Regions from separate parts of the Homo sapiens genome. Here all the other regions are linked to region 1. The links are contacts of gene promoters, found by promoter capture Hi-C in human tissues and cell types (Jung and others, 2019). All regions are on one chromosome and are shown on one strand. Each heading gives the region's core, a stretch centred on a gene start or on the middle of the fragment in contact. The rest is flanking DNA. Distances are from core to core; before and after follow the strand shown. Region 1 holds the start of DNAJC11 (DnaJ heat shock protein family (Hsp40) member C11). Region 2 overlaps CAMTA1 (calmodulin binding transcription activator 1). Region 3 overlaps ICMT (isoprenylcysteine carboxyl methyltransferase). Region 4 overlaps CAMTA1 (calmodulin binding transcription activator 1). Region 5 overlaps CAMTA1 (calmodulin binding transcription activator 1).

The links. The method cuts DNA at HindIII sites, captures the fragments that hold promoters and counts their contacts. A contact is called where the count stands out against the background at its distance.
Region 2: a contact is called between a fragment that was not itself captured here and the fragment with the promoter of DNAJC11 in region 1, in 3 of the 25 tissues and cell types used here (hippocampus, liver and mesendoderm cells).
Region 3: a fragment that was not itself captured here is called in contact with the fragment with the promoter of DNAJC11 in region 1 in 1 of the 25 tissues and cell types used here (liver).
Region 4: a contact is called between a fragment that was not itself captured here and the fragment with the promoter of DNAJC11 in region 1, in 1 of the 25 tissues and cell types used here (lymphoblastoid cells).
Region 5: a contact is called between a fragment that was not itself captured here and the fragment with the promoter of DNAJC11 in region 1, in 1 of the 25 tissues and cell types used here (lymphoblastoid cells).

The regions. Positions count from the first base shown.
Region 1 is chr1:6,700,476-6,703,274 of GRCh38, reverse strand. DNAJC11 (DnaJ heat shock protein family (Hsp40) member C11) reads left to right here and starts at 1,459. Exons shown (of 16, transcript NM_018198.4): 1 at 1,459-1,546. The coding sequence starts at 1,475. RefSeq lists a silencer at 1,223-1,672. The HindIII fragment of the contact is 19,207 bases long and covers 1-2,799 here.
Region 2 is chr1:7,199,785-7,202,583 of GRCh38, reverse strand. The region is part of intron 4 of CAMTA1 (calmodulin binding transcription activator 1); the gene reads right to left. Among named protein-coding and RNA genes, the nearest start is that of CAMTA1-IT1, 160 kb to the left of the region's middle. The HindIII fragment of the contact is 8,532 bases long and covers 1-2,799 here.
Region 3 is chr1:6,227,027-6,229,825 of GRCh38, reverse strand. All of the region lies in intron 4 of ICMT (isoprenylcysteine carboxyl methyltransferase), which reads left to right. Among named protein-coding and RNA genes, the nearest start is that of ICMT, 7.5 kb to the left of the region's middle. The HindIII fragment of the contact is 6,595 bases long and covers 1-2,799 here.
Region 4 is chr1:7,078,201-7,080,999 of GRCh38, reverse strand. The region is part of intron 3 of CAMTA1 (calmodulin binding transcription activator 1); the gene reads right to left. Among named protein-coding and RNA genes, the nearest start is that of CAMTA1-AS3, 65 kb to the right of the region's middle. The HindIII fragment of the contact is 6,035 bases long and covers 1-2,799 here.
Region 5 is chr1:7,061,565-7,064,363 of GRCh38, reverse strand. The region is part of intron 3 of CAMTA1 (calmodulin binding transcription activator 1); the gene reads right to left. Among named protein-coding and RNA genes, the nearest start is that of CAMTA1-AS3, 49 kb to the right of the region's middle. The HindIII fragment of the contact is 9,615 bases long and covers 1-2,799 here.

The DNA.
Region 1 (2,799 bases), core at 210-2,709:
TCAGGCTGACTCAACCCACCCGAACAATCTGTCTCAGCACACCGAAGTGTCTCATGCCAAAAGATCCTAAGAGGGCTGGGCAACTTGGAAGGGATGAGACACAGGCCCAGATGGTGCACATCTGGCCAAAAATTAGAAAGAGAAAGAAATCAGCCTCTCAAATCCACAGACAGGTGTTCGGGGCTTCCCAGGAGACCTGCTTATGAAGGGCAACGGGGATGGCTATGGACTGGTGGTTAGTGAAGGAACAACAAAGGTTTCTGAGACTTGCGCAGGTCAGCGGGAACCAAACAGGTGGCAAGAGTGGGCTGCTGTCCACCTTCCCTTGACAATGGCGTCATTTCGAAGACCTTTAAATTATTTAGATTGTTGTAACCAAGACATCTTTAATAATGCACCAAACAGCAGGCACCAGGTTGAAATCAATTAGACTCCACCGATAAATTATAAGGGAGAAATTTACAGGAGAATGGCTCTGGGGTAGGGACTGCAGGTACACATGCCTGCCAGAGACAATTATATCAGGAACCAAATAGTTATTGCTTTGTCATTTAAGCAGCAGAAAAGATGGCCAGGTGCTCCTAAATTAGAGCAATAACAAATAACTAAAATGAGGAGGCCTGTTCTGGGCAGGAAGGCTTCTGGGTGGCCAAGAGAAAAGACAATGGAGGTAGGAACAAATGTCATTTGGGGGATATCTAGGATCCGGATGCACCCTGCACTGGGGGCACCTCGCGCTTCTTCCAGGAGTTTGGGGCCAGTGGGGTAACAGGTGGTATCACAGGGGTTTGTCTCCCAGAGGATGACAATCTCCTGGAGGTGACTTCAAAGTTTCCCTTTCTAGGCAGGACGCGGTGGCTCATGCCTGTAATCCCAGCACTTTGGGAGGCCGAGGATCTCCTGAGTTCAGGAGCCTCAGACCAGCCTGGCCAACATGGTGAAACCGTGTCTCTACCAAAAATACAAAAAAATTAACTGGGCGTGGTGGCGCGCGCCTGGAGTCCCAGCTACTCGGGAGGCTGAGGCAGGAGAATCGCTTGAACCCGGGAGGTGGAGGCTTCAGTGAGCCGGGATTGCGCCACTGCACACACACCAGGCTGGGCGACAGAGTATGACTCCGTCTCAAAAAAAAAAAAAAAAAGCAAAGTTTCCCTTTCTAGTACAGGAAAAGCCCTAGGGAGTCCTGGCTGGATCTCAGGCCCCCGAGGACGCAGCCACGCCGCGTGCCACGCGTCCATTGGGAGCACGAAGAGACACCCGCGTGGTCACCCCGCCAGGGCTGCCTAGGCGCCGCGTCCCGCCCTAGGCCGCGCGGGGGCGCAAAGCGCAGGCGCACTCCCGCCGGGCGCGGACGGCTCCGGGCCGCCAGGGGCCGCTGTGGCGCAGCCGGGCTGGCCCGCGCTGTCCCTGACGCGGATCACTGGCCCCTCTTGAGCACGGCCTTGCCGGTTTGGCGGGGTGAAAGGTTGCGAAGATGGCGACGGCCTTGAGCGAGGAGGAGCTGGACAATGAAGACTATTACTCGTTGCTGAACGTGCGCAGGGAGGTGAGGCCAGCGGCTGGACGCTCTGGGGGCTGAGGCCGAGCCCGGTCGTTCGGGAGGGCCGGGCTGGCGGTGGCCGCCCCACCCCCGCCACGGGAGGCTCGGGTCCGTCGGGGAGGCCGCGTGACCCCGGCGACGTGCACGCCAGCCGCCCGATGGAGGCGTCCCCACCGCCCAGACCCTCCCGCCGGGGGTTCCGGGGCCAGCCTCCGCCCCAGCTCCTGAAGGCCAGTGCGCCGCGTGCACTGTGTCCGGGTAGGGCCAGAGGCCCCCGCACGCTCAAGAGGAAACGGGGGCCCCGAGGAGGCCACCGTAGTGGGGTTAGCAGTCCTCCGAGACCCCGTCTCGCGCTCAGCCCACATACTCGTCCTGGCTGAGGGGCTGTGTCATCGCCCGCCGCCAGCAGGATGGCGAACTGAGTCTCACCCACCAAGGTCAAGGCCACTAGGGAACGTCCTTAGGGCTTTTTCCGGTTCCCGAGTCTTTCGTGGGGACGCTCTGCCTCTGAAGTGGGTCCAGCCTCAGAGGCATGCGTCTCATGCCCTCTTTCATTCCCCTGGACCCGATGTCCAGAAATTGCAGGCAGAGCCTCCGGGACACAGACCCTCGGCTCGGAGGCTGCAGATTAGGAAGAAGCCCTAGGCCAGAAAAGTGGTGCCCTAACAACAGCTTCAACATTCACACCAAGCACTTGTACCCTGTCTCCTCAACGAATAAAAGATAACATGAGAGAGTCTCACATAGCCTGGCAGTAGTAGGGCCCCACTACACTCCTTTGTTCTTGACTAGTCTGGAGTTGAGATAGGTGTGAAGGGCGAGAAGGCTTCCAGGGTCAGGTCATGAGGTGGATCAGTTTCTTTAAGCCGATGGGTCCAGACTTTTCAGCCCTGCCAGAGAATTCCTAATTCCATCTCTCAGGTTTTCCAGTGGTAATGAAAGCTAGCCAAGTTTGGCTATGCTAACCAAAGCGGGTTCAGTGTGTGTTGTCAGTAAATATTAGTCTATGTGATGTTAATAATACAAACTTATCTTGTGTGGGACCACTATGCTGAATGAACTTTGTACTGTTATCTCATTTAATTCTGAGGATAGCTCTTAAGGTAAGTATTATGATAGCCCTTGATTTACACTTGAGGAAACCAAGGCATAGAGAGATTAAGTAGTGTGTCTAAAGTCACACTACTAGAAAGTGCAAGAGCCTGAACTCAACCCAGGCAGTCTGACTCTGGAGCCCAGCTTGTGAGCTCCATGCTAGT
Region 2 (2,799 bases), core at 110-2,609, 500 kb before region 1:
GCAAAAACTATAAAACATGGTTGAAACAAATTTAAAAAGACCTAAATAAATGGAAAAACTTCAATGTTCATGGGTCAGAAAACTTAACATCGTTAAGATATCAGTACTCTCCAAACTGCTCTACAGAGTCAATTCAATCTCTGTGAGAATTCCAGCTGACTTCTTTGTAGATATTGTCAAGCTGATTCTAAAATTCATATGAAACTGTAAGAGACACAGAATAGCCAAAACAATACTAAGAAAAGAACAAAGTAGGAGGATTCACACTTTCTGAATTCAAAATTTACTACAAAGCAATGGTAATCAAGACAATGTGGTACTAGCACAAAGGAGACGTACAGATCAATAGAATAGAAATGACAGCCTAGAAATAAACCCATACAGCTGTCATCAATTGACTTTTGACAATGGCACCAAAACCATTCAACTGGGAAAAAAATAGTCTTTTCAACAAATGAAGCTGGGACAACTAGCTAGTCACATGCAAAAGAATGAAATTGAATCCTTATCTCACACCATATACAAAAATAAACTCAAAACAGATGGATCAAAGAGCTAAATGAAAGAGTTAAAACTAAAATTCTTAAAAGAAAACATAGGTATAAACATTCACGGCCTTGGATTGGCAAAGCATTTTTTAGATATGACATCAAAAGCATGAACAACAAAATAAAAAATAGACACATGGGGCTTCTTCAGAACACAGAACTTTTGTGCTTCAAAGGACACCAAAAAAATTGAAACTGTGGAAGAATAGGATAAAATATTTGCAAATTATATATCTGATAAAGAACTTATGTCTAGAATATATAAAGAACTCTTACAACTTAATAATAAAAAGGACAGGTAACCCAATTTAAAAATAGGCAAAGCCTCTGAATAGACATTTCTCTAAGGAAGAAATACAAATGGAAAATATACAAATATACACACAAAGACACTTGATATTATTAGCTATCAGGGAGATTCACATCAAAACCATAAAGAGATGACACTTTAATACCCAGGAGGAAGATGAGAATCTGAAAGTCAGATAATAACAAGTGTTGACAGAGAAACTGGAACCCTCATACCCTGCTGGTAAGAATGTAAATTGGTGTGGCCACTGTGGAAAATGGTCTAGGTCTAACAGTTCCTCAAGTAATGAAACACAGAGTTACCATGTGACCCAGCAATTTTACTCAGGTGGATACCCAAAAAAGAAATGAAAAAAAATATGTCTACACAAAAACATGTGCACAAATGTTTATAGCATCATGGTTAATAATAGCCAAATGAGTTATATCCATATAATGAAGCCAAATGAGTTATATCCATATAATGAAATATTATTCAGCCATAAAAAAGAATGAAGCACTGCTGCATGCTACAATGTGGATGAACCTTAAAAACATGATGCTAAATGAAAGAAGACAGTTACCAAAGGCCACATATTATACGATTTCATTCTTACAAAGGTCCAGAACAGAGAAAGCTATAGAGACTCTAAGTGGATTAATGTTTGCAGAGGGCTGGCGGTGGGGAGTGTGGATGGGGAGATAGTGAAGTGATGGCTACATAACATGGCATTTCTTCTGGAGGTTTTGAAAATGTTTAAAATCAATGGGGGCACATTTATGTGAATATACTAAAAACCTTTGAATTGTACACTCTAAATGGTGACTTGTACAGCACGTGAATTACATCACAATAAAGCTGTTTTTCAAAATTTTTAAGCCTGATGAGAAACAAGATATTCACACAGTCCCCAAGTACCACCTCATGAGATACTTATTAATTAGAAAAAATAAACAGTACTTTCCAGTAGAGAAACCTGGCAGGCAACCACCTTAATCAAGCAATGAGTTAACACCAACCAGCAATGCGCAAATCTCCTGATATGAGGTACTGAGAAGGACATAACATGGCTTCCGTAGTATTTTGGACAACACTGTGTAATCTAATCTATGCGGAACCTCAGACAAACCAGAACTGAGGGACATGCTGCAAAATAGCAGGCCTGTACTCGTCAAAAATGTCCGATTCAAGAAAGAAAAAGAAAGACGGCAGAACTCTTCCAGATTAAGAAACTGGAACTAAATGCGCCCCATGATCCCAGATTGAATCCAGGACCAAAACTCAAACAACCATTTGTTTTTCATTTGCTATAAAGAACATTACTGGGACAATTGTTGAAATTTCTGTAAGGGATGAGGATAAAATAATAATAGTATCACATTGATGTTAATTTCCTGACTTTGATATTTGTACTGTGGTTATGTATAAGACGTGGTTATGTACAAGAATGTCCTTGGTCTTAAACACACAGTGAAATATTTAGAGGTAAGAAGCTTCATGTCTTCAATCTATTCTCAAATATTTCAAAAGAGTGTTAAAATGTTACATATGTACACCACTTCATATATATACACACACCCACATACACAGAGAATAATTAAGTATATATAGTGAAATGTGAACAACTATGAAATCTGGCGAATGATATACAAATGGTACTTGTATGTTTTAAAAAACTTTTCAACTTTCTGAAATTGTTTCAAATAAAAATTTTAATTAAAAAAGCATGCTTGCAGTACAATGTCATTTATATAAAGTTCTAAAGCAGATGAAAGAAAATTATCCTCATCTATATACACATGCAGCAAAGGTGTATAAACATTCATGACAGTGGTTAGCTCTGGGGAGGATGGGGCCAGGTACGCAATAACTGTGTTTTACTTCTCAAGCTGGTGGCGGGTATGAGGCTATCCATTTTATTGTTATTTATCTTTTTGTATATCTAGAATATTGTATAATAAC
Region 3 (2,799 bases), core at 220-2,719, 470 kb after region 1:
ATGTGTGTGTGTGTGTGTGTGTGTGTGTGTGTGTGTGTGTGTATTTTTTTTATTTATGTATGGTTTTTTGTTTTGTTTTGAGGCAGGGTCTCTCACCCAGGCTATAGTGCATTGGCATGATCATGGTTTACTGCAGCCTCTACCTCTTGGGCTCAAGTGATCCTCCCACCTTAGTCTCCTAAGTATCTGCCCAGGCTGGAGTGCGGTGTCACAATCTCGGCTCATTGCAACCTCCGCCTCCCGGGTTTGAGTGATTCTCCTGCCTCAGCCTTCTAAGTAGCTGAAACTACAGATGTGTGTCATCACACCTGGCTAATTTTTGTATTTTTTAATTAATTTATTTTTTTGAGATGGAGTTTCACTCTTGTTGCCCAGGCTGGAGTGCAATCATGTGATCTCAGCTCACTGCAACCTCTGCCTCCCGGGTTCAAGCGATTCTCCTGCCTCAGCCTCCTGAGTAGCTGGGATTACAGGCATGCGCCACCATACCCGGCTAATTTTGTATTTTTAGTAGAGACGGGGTTTCTCCATGTTGGTCAGGCTGTTCTCGAACTCCCAACCTCAGGTGATCTGCCTGCCTTGGCCTCCCAAAGCGTTGGGATTACAGACATGAGCCACCATGCCCAGCCCCTGGCTAATTTTTGTATTTTTGTAGAGACGGGGTTTTTCCATGTTGCCTAGGCTGGCCTCGAACTCCTGCGGTTGAGTGATCTACCCGCCTCGGCCTCTCAAAGTGCTGGGATTACAGGCGTGAGCCACCACATGTATTTCTTTTTCTTTCTTTTTTTTTTTTGAGACAGAGTCTCACTTTGTCGCCCAGGCTGGAGTGCAGTGGTGCGATCTTGGCTCACTGCAACCTCCACCTCCCGGGTTCAAGTGAGTCTCCTGCCTCAGCCCCCGCGAGTAGCTGGGATTACAGTTGTGCACTACCTCGCCCAGCTAATTTTTTGTATTTTTAGTAGGTTTAGTAGGGGTTTCACTGTGTTGGCCAGGCGGTTCTCAAACTCCTGACCTCAGATGATCCACCCGCTTCAGCCTCCCAAAGTGCTGGGATTACAGGCGTGAGCCACTGCATCCAACCCGCATATTTCTTTTTTAAAATTACTATTTGGCTAGGCACAGTGGCTTTGGGAGACCAGAGCAGGAGGATTGCTTGAGGCCAGGAATTAGAAACCAGCTTGGCTGGCCGGGCATGGTGGCTCATGCCTGTAATCCCAGCACTTTGGGAGGCTGAGGCAGGCAGATCATGAGGTCAGGAGATCAAGACCATCCTGGCTAACACAGTGAAGCCTCATCTCTACTAAAAATACAAACAATTAGCCTGGTGTGGTGGCACGCATCTGTAGTCCCAGCTACTTGGGAGGCTGAGGCAGGAGAATGGCGTGAACCCGGGAGGCGGAGCTTGCAGTGAGCCGAGATCGCGCCACCGTACTCCAGCCTGGGCGACAGAGCGAGACTCCATCTCAAAAAAAAAAAAGAAAAAGAAACCAGCTTGGCCAACATAGTGAGAACCCTTCTCTCCAGAGGAAAAAACTAAAAATATATCTGGAAGTTGTAGTGTGCACCTGTAGTCCCAGCTACTCAGGAGGCTGAGGCAGGAGGATCGCTTTGATTGCTGCTGTACTCCAGTCTGGGCAACAGAGTGAGACCCTGTCTTAAAAACAGAAAACAAAATTATTTATTTGTGTATTAAAGATGAGATCTCGCTGTGTTGCCCAAGCTAGTCTCAAACTCCTGGGTTCCAGCAGACCTTCTGCTTTTGTCTCCTGAGTAGCTGGGACTATAAGTGTGCACCACCATGCCCAGCTAACTTTTTGTTTTTTGTAGAGATGGGGTCTTAGTGTTGCCCAGGCAGATTTTGAACTCCTGGGCTCAAGCAGTCCTCTCACTGCAGCCTCTCAAAATGCTGGGATTACAGGCATGATCCACCATGCCCAACCCAAAGCCTTATTTCTTTTTTTTTTCTTTTTGAGACAGAGTCTCGCTCTGTCGCCCAGGCTGGAGTGCAGTGGCGCAATCTCGGCTCACTGCAAGCTCCGCCTCCTGGGTTCACGCCATTCTCCTGCCTCAGCCTCCTGAGTAGCTGGGACTACAGGCGCCCGCCACCATGCCTGGCTAAATTTTTTGTATTTTTAGTAGAGACGGGGTTTCACTGTGTTAGCCAGGATGATCTCAATCTCCTGACCTCATGATCCACTTGCCTCAGTCTCCCAAAGTGCTGGGATTACAGGCGTGAGCCATCGCGCCTGGCCGCCTTATTTCTTGAAACTGTTTCTTGATTCTTTACTCTTGGTCCTAGAAAAACTTGGCCAAAGAATGTGAATAGATCTTGGAAAATTCACGAAGTGTTTGGGAAAAGTCTCCAAGTCTTTGGGCAAATCCAGAGATCTCTCAGGCATCCCATCAGCAATGCATGGTCCTTGGTGACTCTGGTGACCCCTAACGGTATAGGTGGGGCAAATGATCACATAGCATTTACAATTTTTGTTTCTGAAACATGTAAAACCGCCACATTAACAATCACCTTCCCTGGGAACAAATTAGTTATGACTGAATAATGTAATTTGCCATAAATGCTTGCTTCCTGTATATGTGTGTGCACTAGAACCAAAGGGTTTTCCATACCTTTTTGCCCATAGATTTTTTTTACATTGTGCTCCAGCACTTGTGTGTGTATGAAAGGAACATGTCTTTCCTGATATAATACTTACACTTACTGTTTACAAAATCCTGTTTTCTATCTTATTATTTCAATACTGTTCATAATGTACTAAATGATTTCATGGCTTAGTAACAGGC
Region 4 (2,799 bases), core at 88-2,587, 380 kb before region 1:
TTTTGGCCAATGTCAGGAAGGGTCTTCTAGTCCTTATTTGATTTGTTGTCTGCTTTTCCTCAGCCTAGAGATAGCAGCTGCTGCTTTACCCCTGATATTTTGGAAACACTTAGAATTCTCTTTTATCTCCATTAGTAATCAACCACCCTTCTACTAGCTAGAAAGTCTTTATATATTAAATTTTCTGTTCAAATAACCAAACATGCTTCTGTCTCCTGAGAGGATCCTGACTGATATAAGAATAATCCACCAGCCTGGCCAACATGGTGAAACCCCATCTCTATTAAAAATACAAAAATTAGCCTGGCATGGTGGTGGTCACCTGTAATCCCAGCTATTTGGGAGGCTGAGGCAGGAGAATCGCTTGAACCTGGAAGGCAGAGGTTGCAGTGAGCCAAGATCGTGCCATTACACTCCAGCCTGAGTGACAGAGCAAAACTCTGTCTCAAATAATAATAATAATAATAAATCCACAGTGCTGAAGATGTTTACAATCTCACTGATGTGTAATCCTAGAAAACACACTAAAAGGTAGAGGGAGAATGAAAAAATACCTGAAAGAGAAGCAGCATGTATTTGGGAGGAGATATCAAATTGCCGTATTGAGGTCTTTATAGCAAGTTTCCTAGATGCCAGCCAGATCATAGTTTGAAAGGCACTGGAGGAATATATGTCCTACCTTTTAGTTTGTGAGAAGACCTGAATCCACCTATTTTGAGAGATTAAAAAAACATTTCTTTTAGAATAGAAAAAGTTAATCCATCTCCCTTTGGTTGTATGATTTGGGGGAAGTCACATGATAGCTCTGTGCCTCAGTTTCCTCTAATGTGTGCCATGAATCTATAGGTATTACTTCATTTACTACAATTGTGTTATCCCATATTTCAGGGATTAAAACCTATTTTCAATCAGCATCATGGAGATATAATTTACATACAATAAAATGTACCCCATTTTAAATGTAAAGTCCAGTAGATGTTAACACATAAATGTATTATGTATCTATCACCATATTCAAGATGTAAAACAATTTCCAGGACCATGTAAGGATAATTTACTCTATACGGAATTTTACACTGACAGACTGTTCCCCCTTTCGGCACTCAAGAGATCCCATTCCATTGTCTTCTAGCTTGCATGATTTCTGATGAGAAGTCTGCAAAAATTCTTATCTTTGTCTATAATTTGTCTTTTTCCCCTCTTCTAGCTGAGTTTAAGATTTTTTCTTGCTGGGCACTGTGGCTCATGCCTGTAATTCCAGCACTTTGGGAGGCCGAGGTGGGAGGATCGCTTGAGGTTAGGAGTTTGAGACCAACCTGGCCAACATGGTGAAACCCATTTCTACTTAAAAAAAAAAAAAATTAGCCAGGCGTGATGGTGTGTGCCTGTAATTCCAGCTACTTGGGAGGCTGAGGCACAAGAATCGCTTGAACCTGGGAGGTGGAGGTTGCAGTGAGCCAAGACTGACCACTGCACTCCAGCCTGGATGACAGAGTGAGATTCTGTCTTTAAAAAAGAAAAAAAAAATCTTTATCACTAATTTGAAGAAATCTGATCATACTGTGTGTGCCATTCTGTGGTTTCTTTGTATTTACCTTGCTTGGGGTGTGTTGAGCTTCTCAGGTCAGTGAGTTTATAGCTTTTGTCAAGTTTGGAAAACTGTCAGCAATTATATCTTTAACTAAAGAGCATTAGGCTTTAGGCTTTACTCTGGCAGTTATTTAAGTTACTTGTGGATCAGCCTGACCCTCTCAAGGCTTATTTTTAATCTCTGTAAAGGTGGGTCTACAGCACGTTTTACTCCAGAAATGTTGTTACCCTACTATTATTGCTTCTTCCTTCCGGAGTCTCTACTGAATGTCCCAAATATTCAAGGACAGCTCCCCAGTCGGGCTGGTCAGAATGCAAATACCTCCGAGTCCTGTATGAGCTCTGTGAATTTTATAGCCCCTATGTGCACTTTGTCCAGTTTTGTGGGGTTTCACCTCACTCATCAATGGTTTAGTAGTCAACAGAACATCCCAGGAGAGCCATAAAAGTTTCTAGAGCACTTTCTTTGCCAGGCCTTCTCCTGTATGATATTCTGCCCTGCAAATTCTAGATGTATCAACCTCTCCAAACTCTGATATCTGTCTCCTCAGCTCAACAAGATCACTGTACTCTTCTTGGAATACCTCCCTGAAGATACAGTCTTGAAATGCCTCCATGCAGAAATACAAAGTGATTGTATGGTTTACAGTCTTCTCTTAGCAACCACAGTCCTACTCTGACGATCATCTAATAGCTGAAAATATTTATTTCACAGGTTTTATCCAGTTTTATCATTGTTTGTAGCAAGAGGATGAATCTAGTCCTAGTTATTCCATCACAGCCAGTGGCAAAAGTCTCATCATAAATTTTTAGACTTTTATTTTATTCTTTGAGAGGTCAGCAATCTTTCAATGAAGGACATAGCCAGCCTAAAGAAACAGGGTTAAAACTTTGAGGGTGTCATTGTTGTCTCAGAGACAGGCTATCGTAAGCCCGTAGAGATACAGATTTTCTCAAATAACAAAAAGTGAGAGGGAGAGAGAGTGTCTGAAGACGACTCAATACCGATTCTGCCTTCCTTAACACCAACCCTCCTTCACCTCTACCCCCAGATGAAGATGCAGACTTGCTGATCTGAAGGTTCAGTTCAAGAATCAGAAGAGCCTAAAAGAGCACAGATTGTTGTTATAAGTCCTTCCAGAACAGTGATATAAACCTGAATATAAAACAGAAGTAGTGTTGCAAGAATTTGGCTTCTTCTTCAACCTT
Region 5 (2,799 bases), core at 90-2,589, 360 kb before region 1:
TAATTAATATGAGACAAGTCATGAAGGTAGGTGTCCTCATGATTATATTAATGGCTTCATAAGGAGAGAGGGAGGGAGGGAGAGAGTGAGAGAGAGAGAACAAGAGGAAGAAAAGAACAAGAACAAGAGGAAGGAGCAGGAGGAGGAGCAGGAGGAAAGGGGAGAAAGAAGAGGAGGAGGAGGAGAAGAAGAAGGAAGAGGAGGAGGAGGGAAGAAGAGAAGGAGGAGGAGGAGAAGAAGAAGGAGGAGGAGGGAAGGAGAGAAGGAGGAGAAGAAGGAGGAGGAGGAGGAGGAGAAGGTGAAGGCAAAGGCTCCCACCATATGAGAAGGCAGCCACCTGGCAGCCAGGCCAGAGCCATCATCAGGAATCGAATCTGCCAGTGCCTTAATCTTGGACTTCCCAGCCTCCAGAACTGTTAGAAATCAATGTCTTCTGTTAAAGCCACCCAGTCTATGGTATTTTGTTACAGCAGCCTGAGCAGACTAGTACATGAATTTATTTTTCTCTCTCCCCCAACAAAATATGAACTTCAGGAGGCAGAAAATGTCCCCAACTTATTCACCACTGTGTTCCCAGCATCCCTGGCAGGATGCTAATCGCACAACCAGTGCCTGAAAAAGTGTGGTTGTTGAATTTGCTCCCACTTTGTAGGTACAACTTGCTGATTTTTATAAGAAGAAAATGTCTAATAATCTAAGTCCAAATGCAAATGGTAGGTCCAGGGAAGGTATTTCAGATCTAAAATAGCTTTAAGACCAAAAGCAGAGGGCAGAGCAGGGGAGGCTACAGGGGAGGAGATATAGCCATAATTCTTCAGAAGAAATCTTTCAAGAGTTGGAAAGTTCTGTCTAGAAGGTAGTCTGCCCCTGCCTCCAATCTGCAATGCAGCTAAACTAGTGTTTCCCGAGGTGTGCTCCGTGGAACATTCTCTCCAGAGATGCCCTGCTAAGATAAAGGGCAGGGAGGTGCGGTGGTGTCGTGGTCAAACGGGTAAGCAAAGCGCTGCAGATGACACCTCCCTCTGGGAAGCTGCGCCTCAGCACACTGACGGGTCTGAGAGGTGTTGCGGAAGAGTCGTCCCTGTCTTTCCACTAGGAATTCTAGGCCGGATTTGACCTGATGTTAGGGGGTGAAGAAAGTGGGAGCAAATTCAACAACCACATTTTTTCGGGCACTGGTTATCCGATCAGCATCCTGCCAGAGATGCTGGGAACACAATGGTGAGTAAGTCGGCGACGTTTTCTGCCTCCTGCAGTTTATATTTTGTTAGGGAAGTGAGAAAAATGAATCCGTGTTCCCCAAAAAGATATGTTGAAGTCCTAACCCCTGTACCCACGCATGTGCCCTTATTTGGAAATAGGAGCTTTGCGATGTCATCTAGTTAAGATGAAGTCATAACGGAGTAGGATGGGCCCCAATCCAATGTGATTGACGTCTCTGCAAGAAGGCCACGTGAAAACAGAGACGCACAGGTTGGGGGAGGCCGCGTGAAGATGGAGCAGGGACGGGAGTGAAGCAGCTGCAGGCAGTGAATAGCAGACGCTAGGAGGGGCGAGGAAGGATCCGCCTGGAGCCCCAGCGGAAGCCTGGCCCTGCCGGTACCTGGACTTGGAGGTCGGGCCTCGGGAACTATGAGAGGGTGCATTTCTGTTGGGTAAAGCCACCCAATTTATGGGACTTCATGGCTGAGGCAGACGGCAGTAAACGAACGCCCTGCAACCCTCCGTCTTCTGCAGCCCCCACACCCGGGCCCACGGCTCCCCACCCCACAGCTCCTTAGCGCGGCTGCTCGGTGGAGCCTGTGCCTGTCCGTGTAAGCCCTCAGCCCCTTTCTCCACACCTCTCCCCGGCGCCCAGCCATTGTGCAACCTTCTTGGCACCGGCCGCTCGAGACTCACCCCCGGGCTGGGCAGCCCATTCCCTGTCACTCATTCTGTGTTTTGATCCTGCCTCATTCTATCTTCTTCTTGCTCACTTTTTACACTAAAAACTTTTACATTAGCTGACTGTAATCTATGTTTCCTTATAATTTACCCTAAATATATAACTCATGACACAATATTATCTATGTCTCAGGAATCTAAACCCATTCTAGACAAAGGTGGAATATAAATCAATATATATACTTTAAAAATATAATGGGACCGCCGGGGGCGGTGACTCACGTCTGTAATCCCAGCACTTTGGGAGGCCATGGCGGGTGGATCGCCTGAGGTCAGGAGTTCGAGACCAGCCTGGTCAACATGGCAAAACCCCGTCTCTACTAAAAATACAAAAATTAGCCGTGCGTGGTGGCGGGCGCCTATAATCCCAGCTACTCGGGAGGCTGAGGCAGGAGAATCACTTGAACCCGGTAGGCGGAGGTTGCAGTGAGCCAAAATCGTGCCACTTCACTCCAGCCTGGATGAAAGAACAAAACTCGGTCTCAAAAAAATAAAATTTAATATAATAGGACCTCATACACCGTCAAATTAAAGCCCTCTGCTCACTCTTCATGGCCTTTGGCACCAAACACCAGCCCCAAGGGAGTCCTGCTCTTCTTCCCAGCTCCCTCCTCTGCCAGCGCCACCCCCTGCTCTGCTGCCACTGCCCCTACTCCAGCCTCTCTCTCCACCCTGGCACTGCCCCTTCTCCCCGCCACCCCACCCCCTCCTCTGCCGCCACCACCCCACCAAACCCACCCTGCTCTCCCTGCCTCAGGGCCTTTGCACAGCTGGTTTCCGCCGCTGACAGTGAATATCTGCCTGTTCCTCCCTGGCCTGTCTGCTGAGCTCCTGCTCAAAATCTGGCCTGGTCTT